2 separate regions of the Homo sapiens genome follow, and region 1 is linked to region 2. The links are contacts of gene promoters, found by promoter capture Hi-C in human tissues and cell types (Jung and others, 2019). All regions are on one chromosome and are shown on one strand. Each heading gives the region's core, a stretch centred on a gene start or on the middle of the fragment in contact. The rest is flanking DNA. Distances are from core to core; before and after follow the strand shown. Region 1 overlaps TALDO1 (transaldolase 1). Region 2 holds the start of ANO9 (anoctamin 9).

What was found. The method cuts DNA at HindIII sites, captures the fragments that hold promoters and counts their contacts. A contact is called where the count stands out against the background at its distance.
Region 1: a contact is called between a fragment that was not itself captured here and the fragment with the promoter of ANO9 in region 2, in 1 of the 25 tissues and cell types used here (lymphoblastoid cells).

Annotation. Positions count from the first base shown.
Region 1 is chr11:759,812-762,895 of GRCh38, reverse strand. It overlaps TALDO1 (transaldolase 1), which reads right to left. Exons shown (of 8, transcript NM_006755.2): 4 at 2,643-2,774. Among named protein-coding and RNA genes, the nearest start is that of TALDO1, 14 kb to the right of the region's middle. RefSeq lists an enhancer at 1-308. The HindIII fragment of the contact is 7,127 bases long and covers 1-3,084 here.
Region 2 is chr11:440,535-443,946 of GRCh38, reverse strand. ANO9 (anoctamin 9) reads left to right here and starts at 1,936. Exons shown (of 23, transcript NM_001012302.3): 1 at 1,936-2,026. The coding sequence starts at 2,021. LOC105376506 (a long non-coding RNA gene) reads right to left here. Exons shown (of 5, transcript XR_007062542.1): 5 at 3,274-3,412. It also overlaps the pseudogene RN7SL838P. RefSeq lists enhancers at 538-1,335, 1,643-1,912 and silencers at 1,744-2,038, 2,083-2,162. The HindIII fragment of the contact is 11,307 bases long and covers 1-3,412 here.

The sequences.
Region 1 (3,084 bases), core at 289-2,788, 320 kb before region 2:
CTGACCACATTCCAGTCCTCACCCTGTTCCACCCTACCCATTCCTGGGGCCACCCTGCAGCAGGCCCGTAGCACCCTGGTTTCTGCTGAGAGGAGCCCCTTGGCCTCACTAGGCCACTTGCCCAAATCCCAGTGCACTTTGGACATCCTGGGGTTGATCCCCAAGGACGGAGCAGTGCCCATACTTTGCCATGTGGCTGGGGCATGGGATGAGACAGCCAAGGCTCTGCTCAGGCACCTTCAGACACAAGTTCCCTCCCCAGGCGCCTCTGCCACATGGCCACACGGGGGTGTTCGAGGGGGACAGCAGATGGCACAGCTGAGTTGGGAAACAGCCTGCAGTTCCTCCAGCAGTCACCCAGAGACTCCACTCCTAGGCATATGCCCACGAGAAACAAAAACACATGTCCAGGACAAAACTTGCACATCTGTGTTCAGAGCAGCAGATGTGTTCATAGCAGCAGATGTGTTCAGAGCAGCAGCATACATCACAGCCCGAGAAATGGAAACCGACCACAGCAATATACATCACAGCTCAAGAGATGGAAACTGACCAGGTGTCCACCAACAGATGAATAACTGTGGCCTATCCATAAAATGGAGTATTTTCCAACATATAAAAACAAATGGTCCGGCCAGGTGCAGTGGCTCAAACCTGTGATCCCAACACTTTGGGAGGCCGAGGCGGGCGGATCACCTGAGGCTGGGAGTTTGAGATCAGCCTGACTAACATGAGAAACCCCATCTCTACTAAAAATATAAAATTAGGCGGGAGTGGTGGCGCCTGCCTGTAATCCCAGCTACTCCGGAGGCTGAGGCAGGAGAATCTCTTGAACCCCAGAGGTGGAGGTTGCAGTGAGCTGAGATAGCACCATTGCACTCCAGCATGGACGAGAATGAAACTCCGTCTCAAAAACAAAAAAAAACAAAAAAACACACAAATGAGGCCAGGCACAATGGCTCATGCCTATAATCCCAGCACTTTGGGAGGCCAAGATGGGTAGAGATCTCTTGAGCCCAGGGGTTCGAGACCAGCCTGGGGAACGTGGTGAAATTACCCAGGAGTGGTATGTGTGCTTGTCATCCCAGCCACTTGGGGGACTGAGGTGGAAAGATAGCTTGAGCCTGGAGTCAAGGCTGCAGTGAGCCAAGTTCGTGCCACTGCACTCCAGCCGTGGTGAAAAAGTGAGATGCTATCTCAGAGCAGGTCAGTGATGGCAGGTGGTAGAACATGCAGACACACAGATGTGGAAACAAAACACCTCTTCCTGATGCGAATTATTTGAGTATAGCATTGGCTGCTTCTGGGTGAGAACATCATAGAGGAGTTTTACTTTGTTTTATACATTTTCTGTCTCTTCCACTCTGAACGTACATATGTTTGGTTTGGTTTTTCTGAGACAGGGTCTCACTCTGTCACCCAGGCTGGAGTGCAGTGGTACGATCATAGCTACTGGAACCTCAACTTCCCAGGCTCAAGCGATCCTCCCGCCTCAGCCTCCTAAGTAGCTGGAATCACAGGGGTGGGCTAGTTTTTCTTTTCTTTTTTTTTTTTTTTTTTGAGATGGAGTCTCATTCTGTCACCCAGGCTGGAGTACAATGGTGCAATCTCGGCTCACTGCAACGTCCACCTCCCAGGTTGAAGTGATTCTCCTGCTTCAGCCTCCCATGTAGCTAGGATTACAGGCACCTGCCACCACGCCCAGCTAAATTTTTTGTAGTTTTGGTAGAGACGGGGTTCCACTATCTTGGCCAGCCTGGTCTCGAACTCCTGACCTCAGGTGATCTACCCACCTCAGGCTTCCAGAGTGCTAGGATTACAGGTATGAGCCACCGTGCCCGGCCTAAAAGTTTTCTTTTCTTTTTGAGACAGAGTCTTGCTCTGTCACCCAGACTGGAGTGCAGTGGTGTGATCTCAGCTAACTGCAACCTTCGCCTCCTGGGTTCAAGCAATTCTCCTGCCTCAGCCTCCTAAATGGGACTACAGGTGTGTGCCACCATGCCCGGCTAATTTTTTATATTTTTTAGTGGAGTCGGGGTTTCACCGTGTTAGCCAGGATGGTCTCGATCTCCTGACCTCGTGATCCCCACGCCTCGGCCTCCCAAAGTGCTGGGAGCCACCGTGCCCAGCCTAAAATTTCTTTATATTTTTGTAGAGACAAGGTTTCACTTTGTTGCCCAGGCTGGTCTGGAACTCCTGGGCTCAAGTGATCCTCCCATCTCAGCCTCCCAAATTGCTGGGATTACAGGCATGAGCCATCTTGCCCAGCCAGCATATATTTTATATAACAATAGTTTACTTTTTAAAAATCATGTAAACATAGGCTTGTGTTGATCAGGACAGAGGAAGGACAGAATCTGAATCTGCAGGTGCTAACTAGTGGCTTTTCTTCTCTGCTGAGTGGGTGGATGGTACTTCCTGGGAAATCCCTCATTTCTGATCACCAGCAAGTGAGGGAGCTGGCTCTGGAGCAGAGGGCAGATCTAGGCTGACATGAGCTGGTCAAGTCCAAGCTGTGGGCTGTGCTCCCCAGTCTGGCATTCCCCAGGGCTGAGAGAGTCAAACTTGCCTGATGCCATGTAGACCCTGCTCCAACAGAGGAAAAATCTCTGAGAGCTCCTTCCTTGTGGGGGACCACTTACTTTCCAGCCTGAATTCCTTCCCAGGTTGATGACAGCTTTATAAGAATTCGGTCCTTGCTGATCCCAGCTTCCTTGTAGAGCTCGATGAGCCGCCTGGCTCTGGCCACCATCGCATCTTTATCAAAGGAGAGCCTGTAGGAGCAAGAAGAACCCATCCCCTCAGATCACGCAGGTTGCCCACCACGCAGAGCAAGCTGGAGGCCGGGTGTCTGCCTGTCAGTTTTGAGCAGCACCACCGTGAGCACCAACCACTGCCCTCAACCTTCCCCTCACTGGAGGTTTGCAGAATGGCTCTGACAGCAACTCACACCCAGTCTCACAAACAGAGGTCCTCAGTGGGATCCATAGGCTATAATTTGTATTAAAAAACACTGGGCCAGGTGCCGTGGCTCACGCCTGTAATCCCAACACTTTGGGAGGCTGAGGCGGGAAGATCACAAGG
Region 2 (3,412 bases), core at 687-3,186:
GCGTGTGAGTTCCTCCCATACTCAACAAGCCTTGCACATTCTGTTTCTGAACTAGATCTAACTTGGCAGCTGTGACCCCCTGGTGAGACTGCCGGATGTTCCCTCTCCCGCTTACCCTGCTTTCTTCCATGGGAAAAGAGCTCACATGCCCCAGGCTTCCTTGCCATAGAGTGTGGTCACGTGACTAACCATGTGAAGGGTGAGGTTCCCTCCTTCGCCCTTTCCTCTTCCCACTGGCTGGAACGTGGATGTGATGACTGGAGCTTGAGCAGTCATTTTGGACCAGGTGCTGGGACCATGTATTTAAGGTGGCAGAGCAACAAGCTGAAGGCATTCTGGGTCTCTGATGACTATAGTTCGGCCATACTAGTCCAGGACTAGCCAACTCCAGATTTTTGTTTTGCTTTGTTTTAAAGACAGAGTCTTACTCTGTCACCCAGGCTGGAGTGCAGTGGTGTGATCTTGGCTCACTGCAACCTCTGCCTCCCAGGTTCAAGCGATTCTCCTGCCTCAGCCTCCCGAGTAGCTGGGATTACAGGCGTGCACCACCATACCTGGCTAATTTTTGTATTTTTAGTAGAGACGGGGTCTCACCATGTTGGGCAAGCTGGTCTCGAACTCCTGACCTCAGGTGATCCACCCGCCTCGGCCTGCCAAAGCGCCGGGATTACAGGCATGAGCCACTGCGCCCGGCCAACTCCAGATTTCACTTATAGGAGAAATACACAGCTTGTTTAAGCCACCACCATTTTGCACACAGATCTGAATGTGTTCCATTTGGATTTGCCCCATCTGAGCTCACAGGTCCTCGGCCACCACTTCACTCGCTTGTCTTTGCCAAAGTGGCAAAGCTGTGGTCTCTGCTGCCATCCCAGCCTGCCAGGAGGTCCCCCAAGGAGAAACATGGGTGGGACCATGTTACCCCTTGGGGAAACCAGAGCCGACTGTTGGCCCTGGGCCTGGACCACAGCAGAGGGCTGCTGGGCTTGCCGGGGGGTGCTCTGGCCCCAGTGGGCCTGGAGCCGTTCCGTGTGACAGCGTCTGCCTGCGGAGCTCTGGCCCTGCCTCCCCAGCTTTGCAGCAGCTTTCAGAAGCAGACTCCTCGCCACACACGCTGCAGATAATGTGTGCCAGCCCACGGCCTGGGCCCCCACTCCCCGCAGCCCTTCCCTCCTCAGGGCACTCCACTGGACGGTCACTCTCAGGACACCCAGAGCCTGCCCAGCTGCCGCCCTCAGCCCAGGCTGCACAGAACGTGCTCAGGGACTGGGGATGCGGGGTGGAGGGCTCCTCCTCCGTTGTCTACACAGCCTGGGGCCAGCCACGTGTCCCCAGGACTCCAAGGATTCCCCAGTGGGGCCCAGAAAGCAGGGGCTTGGGTAGGAGCAGACAGTTTCTTTGGGAGTCTGTCTCGTCGTCAGTCCTCCTTGCCCCAGTTTCTCCTCTAAGGGAATCAGCACTGGACCTGTGGGGTGGGGGGCCGTGGCCCGGGGTGGGGGGCCGTGGCCCGGGGTGGGGGAGGCCGTGGCCCGGGGTGGGGGAGGCCGTGGCCCGGGGTGGGGGGCCGTGGCCCGGGGTGGGGGGCATGGCCTGGGGTGGGATGCTTTTGGAGGGAACATGGGGATGTGTGAGCGGGGGTGAGAGAGGCAAGGCAAGTGGGGGCGTTGGTGCTGGCTCTGTCAGGGGCTCTGTGCCATCCTGCTTCCCCCTAGGACCAGGTGTCATGAGACCCATCTCACAGTGGAAACCCCCTTCCCGGGAACTCCAGCCTAGGAATTCCCCTCTGGCCCCTGACCCGCCATCTGGGCTCCAGGAAGGTGTCCCAGGCTCCAGGGGCTGGGGTACTCTCCTGGCCTGGATGCTGGCTCCGCCCCGACTACACCCAGGCGCGGCAGCTGCAGGACGCTGGAGGAGGAGGAGGGAGGGGCGAGCCCCACGCGGAAGTCAGGTAGGAGCACCCGCCGCTGGCAGCCACTCTCCTGGCCGCCAAACCCCAGCTGGAACTCCGGCCACAGCCAGCATGCAGGTGAGTCCTGCGCTCAAAAGGGTCCACACCTTCAAGGCCCCCAGCCACGCCCACACCTGGGGCCCCCGGCCCCAGCCCCCCGCCAGCCCCACCTGGAAGGCGCCTGTGTGTGTGGGGGGGGTCCCTGCAGGCTGCCCGGTCAGGCGAGGGTGACCGCCCGGCTCAGCTAAGCTGCCTCCTGGACTCCTGGGGCACGCTGGGGGTTGGAAGTGCTGGAGGCGGGCGGCGTTCCTCCCTCCAGCCCGGGATTCTGAGGGCACCAGGGCTGGGCTCTCAGCTAGTGTGTGGGGCCAGGAACCTCTACCAGAGTCCTGAACACGAGATGGAGAGGGCCTGCCCACCGAGGCGGGGGCTGCTGCTGAGGACCCCAGACCTGGCAGCTTTGCCTTGCAGCTGGCCCCTAAGGGGGAGCGGGCTGTGGGCACCAGGCAGGCTGCCCCAGGGTTGGGAGCTGCAGAGTGGCCGGCGGGCTGTGGGCTCTCTGCTCCCCAAGGACCCCGCCCAGCACAGGTGGGGGCCGACTGCTGCTGCTGGATTCCGATTCTGGGGGTGGGCGCTGACTGCTGCTGCTGGATTCCGATTCTGGGGGAGGGAGTGCAGGTGAACACGTAGAAAGACATCCTTTCTCCCCTCTGCCAGTGAAGAGGTCACCTGGGGCCAGGGCCAACACCTGGGCAGGTCAGCACCTGGTCGGCCCAGGGAGGAGGCAGTGGTGAGGTGTGGAGTGAAACCAGCCTCCCTCTCGGCCTGCCAGGGCCTCCACGTGTGGGCTGCGCCGGCGGCCTCTTGCTCCATCTCCGCCCAGGGCTCTCCTCGGCCCTCCACATCCAGGTCTGACACCCTGGCTGCTCAGCCCAGCACCTGATGCCCCTTAGCCTGAGCTCAGGGTCCCCTCTGCCAGCCCCTTCCTCCCATGCTGGGGGTTAGAGGAGAGACTTGGGGCTGGCCAGGGGTTGGGTTGGGAGAAGCAGCACCTGGTTTGTTGGAAGTGAGAGCATCAGTCCTTCAAAAAAGACAGTTGCAGCCGGGCCTGGTGGCGCATGCCTGTGGTCCCGGCTACTCCGGAAGCTGAGGCAAGAGGATTGCTTGAACCCGGGCGTCGTGGCATGCACCTGCAGTCTCAGCTACTCAGGAGGCTGAGGCAGGAGGACTGCTCGAACCCGGGCGTGGTGGCGCGTGCCTGCGCTCCCAGCTACTCGGGAGGCTGAGGCAGGAGGACTGCTGGAACCCGGGCGTGGTGGCATGAGCCTGCGGTCCCAGCTACTCCGGAGGCTGAGGCAGGAGGGTTGCTCGAGCCTGGGAGTTCTGGGCTGTAGTGTGTTAGGCTGACTGGCTGTCCGCACATCAGTATGGTGACCTCCCAGGAGCAGGGGACCACCAAGTTGC